4 separate regions of the Homo sapiens genome follow, and all the other regions are linked to region 2. Evidence: promoter capture Hi-C in 16 types of primary human blood cells and fetal thymus (Javierre and others, 2016). All regions are on one chromosome and are shown on one strand. Each heading gives the region's core, a stretch centred on a gene start or on the middle of the fragment in contact. The rest is flanking DNA. Distances are from core to core; before and after follow the strand shown.

Region 1 (2,700 bases), core at 4-2,503, 490 kb before region 2:
ATCTATTTCCTGATCCAGGCCGAGGCTCTGACACTGACCTCCTCAACAACAAGAGCCTCCTCTTCTTCCTCTTCTTTCCATGCCTTTATCTAAGAGGGTATTTGCAGTTTCTGGGGTCTGTGTTCATATCATGACAGACTTCTAAAAGCAACCCTCAATACCCTGCCTTTTCTCTTATAATAAATTTTGCAAACAGTCATTATCAGGCTTAACAGGTGATTTCTTTGTTAGTACCCAACAGAAATGCCACAGAACAACCTAAAAGCGACTTTGTTTTTGCTTTTGGGGAATGGCAATAGCTATAATGCATCACAAGCCTTCACAAATACGCTCTGTTTTCCGTAAAGCCAGCCACATCCAGAAGGAGGAAGTGAGACGTACCTGGTGATTGTTGCTGGCAGCCGACGAACTGGCCTGAGCTGTGCTGGCTGAGAGAGAATCAAGGAAGGCTTGGTCAGCCACTGAATTTCCACAAGAAAATTGATCTTTTCCATCACTGGGTAAAATCTGAATAGGAGAAAGAGCCGCAATTATTTTCATAGATTACGGTCACTTCAGGGAGTCTTCGAGGGCAAGCAAGAATTGTCAAAAAGGGTTTATATTCTTCAATGCTACAAATTTCTCTGTAAGCACTGCTTTTGCCGCATACTCATATTTTAATGGGTTGTATTTTCATTTTTATTTAGTTCAAACTATTTTTTAATTTCTCGAGATTTCTTCTTTGATCCATGCATTATTTAGAAGTGGATTGTTCAATCTCTAAGTATTTACAGATTTTCCATCTATCTTTCTGTTTTGATTTCTAGTGTGATTCCATTGTGGTCTCAGGGCAGACACTGTATGATTTCTTTCAAACATGTTGAGGTATGTTTTATGGCTCAGAATATGTGGTCTGTCTTAGAGAATGTTCCATGTAAGCTTGAAAAGAATGTGTATGCTGCTGTGGTTTGATGAAGCAGTCTATAGATGTCCCTAAGTGGACATCAATTTATTGATGGTGCTGAGTTCAACCACGTCCTTACTGATTTTCTGCCTGCAGGATCTATTTCTAATAGAGGGGGTTTTATATTCTTAAAGGTAAGCAAACCCAAGAATATCTGTAATCACTATTCCTTTATATAAGCAGAATCCTAGAAAATCCAATTACTGCCAATATCAACTTAAATTCTCAGATTTTTCTCAATCTTGTCAATTTGTGGGCTCCTGGATGCAAAGTGCATACAAGTAAAACAAGACTTCAACATAAGACCTACGGAGTGAGGCCAGGGGCCTGTGAATAGGGGGTTGCAGTTGTATGGAAAAGGCTGTGGTGTGTGCATGGGCACACGTTTCTGAGGGAAAGCCTAGAGATTGCATCGGATTCTCTGAGGGGTCATGACTCCCCACCCTCACTGTCTATCAACAACAGAAGGACGGCCTTAGATCTCACTCTGCAGACAGGTCCCAGGTAAACATCCTCTGGGGGGAATTCTTTTCTCCTGGAGGTGAACCAAAGGTACCTTTATTCTTGATCTAGCTCCAGTTGTACTCACAGGGCATCAGGAAACCTTCGCTTCTTTCTGTCACCCAACATGAAAGACAAGCTTACCAAGAACCTTCGCTCGGTTTGGAGGGACCGAAAGACAACCAGCAGGGGGCGCCAGGTGGTTGGCTCAGCTTGGGGGTGTCCCAGGCAGGACCAGCCCAGGCTGCTGTGTTGCTCTCCTGGGTATCCATCCTAACAGCTCTACCCAGGAGATCCCCACAGCAGCTCCCCCAAGACACCCCTCTGTCTATGGGAATGGGAGAAGGAACTGAGATATGCACTTAAAAAAATCTATTTAAACTGTGAGTCTATTGTACAATAAACAATATTATAGATGGCAGCAATATCAGCAAAGGAAAAATACGTTATATGTGTCATATTATAAATATATATCTATATTTATAATTTATATAATTTATAATACATTTTATAAAATTTATATATTTTGCTTATAAAAATATAAATATATATTTAAAATGTATATATTAACAGATATATTGAGATATAATTTCATATATCTTATTGAATTTATACAATTTATAATATATATTTATAATATAGATAATATTAGCAAAGGAAAAATACTAACTTTTATTCAGACCAATTAAAAGTTGCTATCCCTGGAAGAAACTTAACCTAAATATCTGTAGTCATTCTTTGAAGCTTGGGTCTACAGGTAATATTTTTCTTAGTTCTATTTCAATGTAGTTTCCATATTTTATATAGTTAACATTTATTATATTTACAATGGAAATTTTGTTTTGCAAAAAGTTGCTGACTTCTTGTAAGTTGATAATTCATAAAAAGATGCCTGGCAAAGATGAGCTCTAATGAATGAATGACAGGAAGCTCTTACTTCAACGTAGTCTGTGGGAACCAGCCCTCGTTCTCCTTTGATGTTTCTTCCTTCCAGCCATCCTCCACCTACATCCTAATAAGTCACCAAAAAAAAAAAAAAAAGAAAAAGATTACAGTTGAGATTTCCTGGAGAAATTTTGTGTGGAGGAATTGTTATACATAAAAAAAGCAATTAACATTAAGCTTTTCATTCCTAGAGAACACCGTTCAAAATCTTAAATTCTTAAGCCTTCTCTTTACTTCAGAAAATGATGTAACCTAAAAACAAGAAAAATCAAACTTCAATAATAAGTGATCAAAGATTGAAAACAGCTGAT
Region 2 (2,700 bases), core at 152-2,651:
ACTCGGTAGAGAGCGCCCCAAGGATCAGGGACCGGCGGCCCCACCTGCTGGGTCCCATCCGCCACCTGGATTGGCAAGGCCTGGCCCCCCTTGCAAGTGGACCCCTTCCCTCCCTGCTCCCAGAAGCCCAGCCCAGAACGGCGTTCTTTCCGGGGGCCCAAAAGCAATCAGACCTTTAAAAGAAAAAAGAGGGAGCGCAGACTGGCATTATATAACAATTTACAGTAGATAAGACTTCTAGAAAACGAAAGCAGCCCGAGGAGGGGCGGGGGACAGGGGAGACCAGGGGAGTGCGGCGTCGGGGGAGCGGTCGCCACCACTTACTCGAAGGCGAAGAAGAGTCCGCTAGTGACCAGGATGAGGACGAGCGTCAGGTAGAAGACGCCCGTCTGCCGGGCCATCATGATCCTCCCGTTACAGAAGAACTTGTTTCTTCCCGGGAACACCTCCCATTTCCTCCGGGCCGCGATTTTCTTCTTCTTGTGGGGCGACTCCATGGGGGAGGAGCTGTGGGTGCTGATCTGGCTGTACTCGCAGTCTTTCATGGGCCCGCCGCCGCCGGGAGGCATCCACGAGGGCAGCCGGCTGGGGGCGCACACCCCCAGGAGCCCCCCGGCCGCGCGGGCCCCGCCGAGCCACGACCGCCGCCGGCCGCCCGGCCGCCCCCCGAGCCGCGGCGCCGCGGCCCCTACACGGGCTCCCGGCTCGGCGACAACTTTGCCGAGGACACCCAGGTTAACCCTCCGGGGAGCCCAACTGTCATAGCAGAATCCCCGCTCCGTGAGGGGACGGCGCTGGTCCGCAGCCCGCGGCAGCACTCCTCCGTCGCTTCCAGCCCGCGTCCCGGGGCGCGGGGCTCAGCCCGGCCGGCCCCCGGGTCGCCGAGCGCCCGCCCCCTCGCGCGGCTGCCCGCTCGGCCCCGCAGCCCCCGGCTCCCCGGCCGCGCCTCGGCTCTGGCCCGCCGACCCCCGAGCACTGCGCCCCGAGGGGACACGAGGCGGCGGCCCCGGCGCCGGCTTCCTCGGGAGCCACTTCTGCGGCGCGGCCAGGTTGGGTCCACTCCTTCCTCCGGCAGCGGATCCTCCCAGGAGAGAGCGCTGGCGACTGGGCGGCCGCGCGCGGCACCGGCAACCCCTCCCAGGGGTGGGGACAACCACGCACGTTTTTCTGTCAGGAGCCTCTCGGCGAGAGCCGGGGCGCCGCTCGCACCGCGACCCGGTGTCGCTGCGCCTGGCAGCCTAGTCGAATCCGCGGCCCCCGCGCGGGGATGCGCGGGCCGAGGGCGGCGGCGGCTCGCGGGCCGCGCGGCGAGGGCTCCCTTGCTCCCTCCTACCCGGAGGAAGCGGCCCCGGCGCGAGGAGGGCCGCGGGGACACAGCACAGACACTTGTTTGCAAGGCTCAGCCCGGCGCGCGCGCGGCGCTCCGAGTGGGTCCGCCTCCTCCGGGCCGGGTGGGCGGTGGCCTCGCGCCTCACCCGCGGCTCCTCCTCCTGCTCCTCCTCCTCCTCGCCCGCGAAGCCAGGGCACCGGCGCAGCGAGATTCCAGCCCCAGCCCCCTCGGGCGGGCGCCCTGGGGTGTGGAAGGCGCGGGGCTCCCTGTGGCATCGCCCAAGTAGGGATGGGGTCGGGCGCCCGCGGCCCCGCCGCGCAGTGCGCTCCTGGCCGACTTCAGTCCGTCTCGCGGCTTCTTCCGGGTTTATCCCGCGCAGCAGCTGCCGCCTCGGGACACGCTCATTCCCACGGCCACCGGCAAGCCACTCCTGGCGACTCCCCGGGACCTGAGGAGCCGCGGCGCGGAGGTGACCCTCCCCGGCCTGCGCCTCCCTTCTTCCTCCTCCCCAGCTGGGCGCGTGGTCGCGTCGCCCGGGGACTCTGGTGATGCCCGAGAAATGGGCTGGGGGTGCCGGGTGCCAGGATGGGGTGGGGCGGCCCTAGGCCGGCCTGACTTCGGGACCGGGCTGCGGGCGAGGGTCTCGGGGCCCGGCTCGGCCGGCTTCCGGGCCGAGAAAGAAGGGCAGAGGAAGCGGTCAGGGTCCCCTCCGGCCCCGGCCTCCCTCCCGGAGTATAAGCCCTTGGAGGCCAGGTTTTGGGTTGCTGCCGCCCAGCTCTTTCGGTCTCCACTTCTCCCCACGGACGTTTACAGCTGCTCGCTTTATTTCTCCCTCCATTCCCCCGTGGAGCCCCCTCGGCAGCGGAGGGGTCGCGTGCTTCTCCTCTCCCGCCTGCGCCTCCCCCCTTCCCACCCGACAGCCCAGGAGGAGCTGCGGGCGCGGCCCTGGGACGGCCGGAGCCTGGGGCTTCTGCTCGCTCGCGCCCTCCCAGGCGTTGCCGCGGGTCCGAGCCCCCGCAGAGGTGGGCATAGCCCCGGGGCCGCAGAAAACGAAGGCAGCTGGGCAGGGATGCTCAATTTCCCGAGCCCCACTTTCCTTTCACAGCCCACTGGGATGTGTAGTTCTTCCGCCCGCAGGCCTGCGCCGAGGAGAAGCACGACTCGGGGCCTTAGAAACTACAAGTCCCTGCATCCCCCGCGACAAGGGCAGGAGAGGCGTGGTGCTGGGCGTTCTGGGGCTAGGTGGTGGGAGATGGGAACCAACAAAGGGGGTTGTGGGGAACGGTGCCTTCTCTGTACTGGGCAGTTTGCACGTTACACATGTTCTTTGTCTAATCTTCGCCGGAACCCGGTGAGGCATTATTGTATCC
Region 3 (2,851 bases), core at 196-2,695, 380 kb before region 2:
AGATCACACCTCACTGTAACTTTGAACTCCTGGGCTCAAGTGATCCTCCTGCCTCAGCCTCCTGAGTAAGTGGGACTACAGGCATGCACCACCATGGCCGGCTAATTTTTAATTTCTTTTTGTGGAGACGAGGTCCTGCTATGTTGCCCAAGCTCCTCAAACTCCTGGCCTCCCCATCTGCTTCTTAGTCTTCTTGTTACCATTCCTCCTGAGACCTACGCTCCAGCTGTGGGGACATTTCTCAGGCCTACCCCCTATGCTGGTGCCAACCCCTTCACCCAGAATCCCTCCACCCGACGCCAGCCCTAGCCCCTATTCCTTTCTTTGATTGCCTGCTCCTAGTCATCCTTCAAAGCTTGGTTCAGCTGCAAGCTTCCCAGTATGGCTGTGCAAGGGGCATTGCAAAGAGGTGGAGGGTGCCCTGTGCACATCTGAGGTCACTGTAGATTATGACAATTTTCTGGTACATAGTGATAAAATGAATGGTGCCACTGAGGTCATCAGCAGGGCAACTTCTGTCACTTCCTCCTGGAAATGTTCACTGGCCCTCCCAGTTTGCGTTGGGTGACTCTTCTCTGTCATGGCCATGTCATACCAAACTGTGACTGTTTATTAGTATCCATGCTCTTTTGGAGGATGAGCTCTTGGAGGACAGGACCGTGTCCTTCCCTTCTGTATACCTGGCACAAGAACTGATGGGCAGTCCGTGAAGGTTTGTTGAGTGAATGAGCGTGTCCCCGGTAACAGAGTGCCGTGGATAAGGCCCCAGGATCCTGAGTTAGAATCCTGGTGCTGCCTCTCCCATGCAGGGTGACTTAGACACAGCACTCCACAAGTAGCCACCCCATACCTCATACAAAGAGTATGGGGCTCAAGTGAGAAAGTGGCTGCCAAGCACTGAGGGAATGCATGGTGATTCTTACGACTGAATATTTTCCAGTGCTGAAGCTGCTTCTGTGTTGTGCTTCCTAGTCCACTTTTCTGGACTCCCTCTCTCGGTTTGTTTATTATTATTTTAATCCTCCTGAGTTTTACTAGAGAGGCAGCACCATCTTGGTAAATATCTTAACTGCCAGCTCCTGGTGGGGGGAGGGGGTGGAAGTTGAAGTGGAATTCAGTGCAGTGATGTGTGAGATAATGGAACACACACACATTACAGCTAAAGTCCAAGGGAAAGGCTGTCAGAATTAGCTGGATTCTCCCGGCGTCCTCTCTGCACCGGGGCTTGCGATCTGGCCCTCGGCCGCAGGTTGGCACAGCCTGCTTTGTTGCTGAGATGCCCAGTTTCCTCTCGCTCCTGCCCTCTGCTGGCCGGAATCAGATTCTTTCCCGCATATTTGACTCTGTTGCCTCTGGGGATCCGCCTGGGGATCCGCCTGCGTCTCGGGGGCCTGGTTTTCTTTGCTTATTCACTTGCTTGCTGGAGTGTCTATTCCCTGCTTGCTGCATTAGAAGCTATGGGGTACACAAGTGATGCTGGTCCTCAAAGTCCACCTTCAAGGAGCAAGAAATTTGGATAATCTTGGAGAAGCAGAAGCCAGGACCTCAATCCAGAACTCTGTGCCTGGAGCAATGAAGGAGTTATTGTCCCCAGACATGGCACACCAGATTGCAAATTTATAAAGACAGGGAATCATACTTATGTAGAGCTTCGCAATTTACAGAGCACCAAGACATACATTTTCCAATTTAACTCTTTTTTTTTTTTTAGACAGAGTCTCACTCTGTTGCCCAGCTAGAGTGCAGAGTGCAGAGGAACAATCACAGCTCACTGCAACCTCCACCTCCTGGGTTCAAGCAATCCTCCTGCCTCAGCCCCCCAAGTACTTGGGTCTACAGGCACTTGCCACCACGCCCAGCCAATTTTTGTATTTTTTGTAGAGACAGGGTTTCACCATGTTGCCCAGGCTGGTCTTGAACTCCTGACCTCAAGTGATCTGCTTACCTCAGCCTCCCAAAGTGTAGGGATTACAGGCATGAGCCACCATGCCTAGCTAATTTAACCCTTTCAAGCAAACCACTGAGGATGGTATTAATGAAATAAAATAGAAATTGTGTTGGGAGACTGACATTTACTGTCATCAGATGTGATTACTGGCAAACATCTTGTTAGTCAGCTGATGTTATGTCTCACCTCAAAGGACACACTTGATGGGTGGGTGGGGGAAAGCCAGTAAGCCAGGAGTTTCAAAGGAACACTGTGTGGTCTGACCCACACTGTCTTTCCGTAGCATCTGAACTTTCTGTCCCTGCCTCTCCAGCAATGTCTGAGAAGATCAAAGTCTGAGGAGACAGATGTGACTCCTGGAGAGGCATCCAATGGGTAGTTCTCCACTTCTGCCTTGCAACCGTGATCCCAGAAATTCTGAAAGGGCACTTTTAGGATTAAAAGCATTTAGCTTCGTTTCTTCCTTTGTAGGAATGGAAAATCAAAATCACTCTGAAGTCGTGGTTTCTTTTAAGATGCAAAACAACTCCTTTCAAGCCATTGCTTTTAAATCTCTCACATTCAAGCTTAAATCAGTGAGTGACATTGTCACCGTATAATCCGACTGAGTTAAATCGAATAGTGGGAAAGTGGCCTTTTCTTTCTTTAATCTTTGACAAAATAAGGCAAATTCTAAAATTATGCCCAACAGTCTATCAGTAGTCTTTGTTGTTCCACATGTTCAAAGAGAAATGTCTATAAACTCTCAGCTGGTGTTTTTCTAACCCGGAGGCATTCTCTTCCCTACCAGGAAGGGAGGAGTGACTAACATATGATGCTGAGAGAGGCCACTAGGAAAGAGATGGCTGAGAGGGAGAATTTCTCCCGGTGTCAGAGGCATGCGAACCAGAGCAACTCCATCTT
Region 4 (2,700 bases), core at 201-2,700, 280 kb before region 2:
GGCCCGGAGACCACGCTGGAACTCGCTCTGCTAGAGGTTCCCAGGTCTCTCGGCTGGCATGTGCATTTCACAGAATGTTTAAAAAATACAAAATACCAATTTCTCCCCTTCAGGGCTTACTTCAAGTGCCTCTTGACTTTCACTGAAGTCTTTGACTGCTTCTTCTCTTCCCCTCCAGTTTTACAAATTATTCTCATTTTCAATTTAACTTTTTCAGTCCTTAAGCTTCCCTCATCTATTTTCATAATAAAACAATATTGACAGATGAGAAAACGGTAACAAATTAGATAACTTAGATGAAATGGATAAATTCCTAGAAAGACACATACCACTGAGACTGACCCAAGGGAAAAGTAAAAAATCTGAATAGACCTATAATAAGTAGAGTGAATTAGTAATCAAAACAATACCCATGGAGAAAGTTCAAGACTAAATGGCTTTCCTGGCAAATTGTCCCAAATCTTTAAAGATGAATTAACAGCAGTTCTTCACAAACTTTTCGAGACAGAAGAGTAAGAAGCACTTCTCAACTCCTTCCATGAAGCCGGTATTACCCCGATACCAACACCAGACAAAGACTTCACGAGAAAATAAAACTACAGACAATTCCCTTATGAATACAGACAGAACGATCCTTAACAAAATACTAGCAAACTGAATTTAGCAACATATAAAAAGGATTATATACCATGGCCAAGTAGGATTTATCCCATAAATTCAAGAAATAGGAGACAAATAAGAAAAGCAACACACACTCCTACTCTCAAGAAAGTTCTGGTATGACGGCCAGACTGCGCATAGCCCCACAGCACACCCCCAATCCTGTGTCAAGTGCGGGCTTAGTCAGTTTGGGGGCTGTTGGTCAGGGTGGGTGGGAGGAGAGGAGGAGCTGAGAGTCACGGTGTTTACCTTCTTCTGGGGTTTGGAGAGCTCTTTCTGGCATGTGTGGACTGAGATGTTGTCTCTGCCCTCCTAATCTCCTGGTGGAGCTGCAAGGATCAGAGACTCACAAAAGGCTCACAGCTAAAAGGGGGCTTTAGGTACAAATTAATCCCACCTCCTATTTTGCAGATGAGGAAAACTGAGGACCAGTGAGGCAAGAGTGACCTGCCAATCATCAGGGAACTAACTGGCAGGAGCCAGAATGGGAGCTCTCATTCCCTGGTTCCCATTCTGGGCTCTTTCCCTCATGCCAGTCATCTCTATTATTTTCCGGTTGCTCCAAGAGGGTACAGTTGAGCTCGCTCATCTTGCCACTCATGGGTCTCAGGGGGATAATAATAATAGCCGACACTTAAATAGTACTTTTCTTCTACTAGGCAAGGTTTTAAGTGCTTGACATGTCTTAACTTAATCCTCATAGAAACCCTACAAGGTAAGAATATCAATGTTCCCATTTTATAGATGAAAACACTGAGGCAGAGAGAGGTTAAGCAACTCATCAAGGTCATGCTTCTAGTAAGCGGTAGCAGTCTGGTCTCCACACAGTGAATCCCCATCTCCAATGTTCCTCTTCCAGATGGGGATAAAAAGGCATCTTAAAGCCTGCTGGCTGACTCGAAAGCATTTAGCATGTGGAACAGATGTCTCTGTACAGCTTTTATCACTGGCTGGAACATCCTGCTTAGGGGACTTGACTATACAATTCTGTGCTATTACCAAATCCGGAGTAGTGCTTATACGCGTATGACTCCCAGGATGTTGAGATTTCTTACAGTTTTGTCTCTGGTATGGAGGCGGTAGACCATGGTACTCACTGATGGAGGGCTTCTTTAGCATGGGGTCCATGGGCTTTAAAGCAAGACCTTGATCCTGAGATTTCGTGCACATATCATGTGCCTGAGCCTAGACTCACTGGGCATGGATTCGCTGGGGCTGTGACGCTGGAGTGTTTTTGTACCGAACAGCTCCCAGGTGCATGTGAGCCTTGTTCACTTCTTTATACCCAACAGTGCTTTCAAGCCTTCCCCTGGAAGCTCTCTGGAAAGATCTGTGCATGCCTGAGTAAAGGAATGAATGGCCGTGTGCAGTGGCTTACACTTGTAATCTCAACACTTTGGGAGGCTGAGGCAGGTGGATCGCTTGAGGTCAGGAGTTCGAGACCAGCCTGGGCAACATGGCAAAACTGTCTCTACAAAAAATGCAAAAATTAGCTGGGCATGGTGGCACATGCCTGTGGTCCCAGCTACTCAGGAGGCTGAGGTAGGAGGATCACCTTGAGACCAGGAGGTGAAGGTTGCAGTGAGCTGAGATTTCACCACTGCACTTCAGCCTGGGCGACAGAGTGAGACCCTGTCTTAAAAAAAAAAAATACAAATACCCTTTGTGTGTACGGATGGCAAGAAGATGCTACAGGAGATGTGAAGCCACCTACACTCAGGTATGCATGGCAGAGAGTGCACTGTCACCCTGGGCAGGTGACCAGGGCCGCAGGTCCTTACTCAATCCCACCATGATTCTGTATGCCATCAGCCTGAGGCCAGCAGTGAAGAGGCTCTGCTTCCAGGTCCAGAGCTCCTCCTGATCTGCCTGGTGCTCAGTGGCATGGTGATGTCGCATGCAGCTCTTTCCTGGGGTGTTCAGACTGTCTCATCCTCAGTCACAGCAGAGAACAGGAGGGCAAGGAGTCTTGTTTTTTTTTTTTTTGTTTTTTTTTTTTGGTATCTTCAAGCTTCCTGACACAGTGCTCAAGCCCACAGA

What was found. The method cuts DNA at HindIII sites, captures the fragments that hold promoters and counts their contacts. A CHiCAGO score of 5 or more calls a contact.
Region 1: a contact is called between a fragment that was not itself captured here and the fragment with the promoter of ZDHHC14 in region 2, in 2 of 17 cell types (naive CD4 T cells and total B cells). The highest score is 5.9, in naive CD4 T cells.
Region 3: a contact is called between a fragment that was not itself captured here and the fragment with the promoter of ZDHHC14 in region 2, in 2 of 17 cell types (naive B cells and activated CD4 T cells). The highest score is 5.4, in naive B cells.
Region 4: a fragment that was not itself captured here is called in contact with the fragment with the promoter of ZDHHC14 in region 2 in 3 of 17 cell types (endothelial precursors, naive B cells and total B cells); the score reaches 7.6 in endothelial precursors.

Annotation. Positions count from the first base shown.
Region 1 is chr6:157,872,858-157,875,557 of GRCh38, reverse strand. It overlaps SNX9 (sorting nexin 9), which reads right to left. Exons shown (of 18, transcript NM_016224.5): 3 at 2,382-2,456; 4 at 382-507. Among named protein-coding and RNA genes, the nearest start is that of SNX9-AS1, 19 kb to the left of the region's middle. RefSeq lists a silencer at 1,678-1,747. The HindIII fragment of the contact is 665 bases long and covers 921-1,585 here.
Region 2 is chr6:157,379,891-157,382,590 of GRCh38, reverse strand. It overlaps ZDHHC14 (zDHHC palmitoyltransferase 14), which reads right to left and starts at 1,401. Exons shown (of 9, transcript NM_024630.3): 1 at 325-1,401. The coding sequence starts at 569. It overlaps LOC124901446, which reads left to right and starts at 1,500. Exons shown (of 1, transcript XM_047419644.1): 1 at 1,500-2,700. The coding sequence starts at 1,890. RefSeq lists enhancers at 344-483, 1,242-1,853, 2,465-2,700 and silencers at 574-623, 1,134-2,023, 2,184-2,263. The HindIII fragment of the contact is 8,143 bases long and covers 1-2,700 here.
Region 3 is chr6:157,755,276-157,758,126 of GRCh38, reverse strand. No RefSeq gene overlaps it. Among named protein-coding and RNA genes, the nearest start is that of SNX9, 67 kb to the left of the region's middle. RefSeq lists a silencer at 2,516-2,810. The HindIII fragment of the contact is 2,142 bases long and covers 375-2,516 here.
Region 4 is chr6:157,656,666-157,659,365 of GRCh38, reverse strand. The region is part of intron 8 of ZDHHC14 (zDHHC palmitoyltransferase 14); the gene reads right to left. Among named protein-coding and RNA genes, the nearest start is that of MIR3692, 130 kb to the right of the region's middle. The HindIII fragment of the contact is 2,446 bases long and covers 228-2,673 here.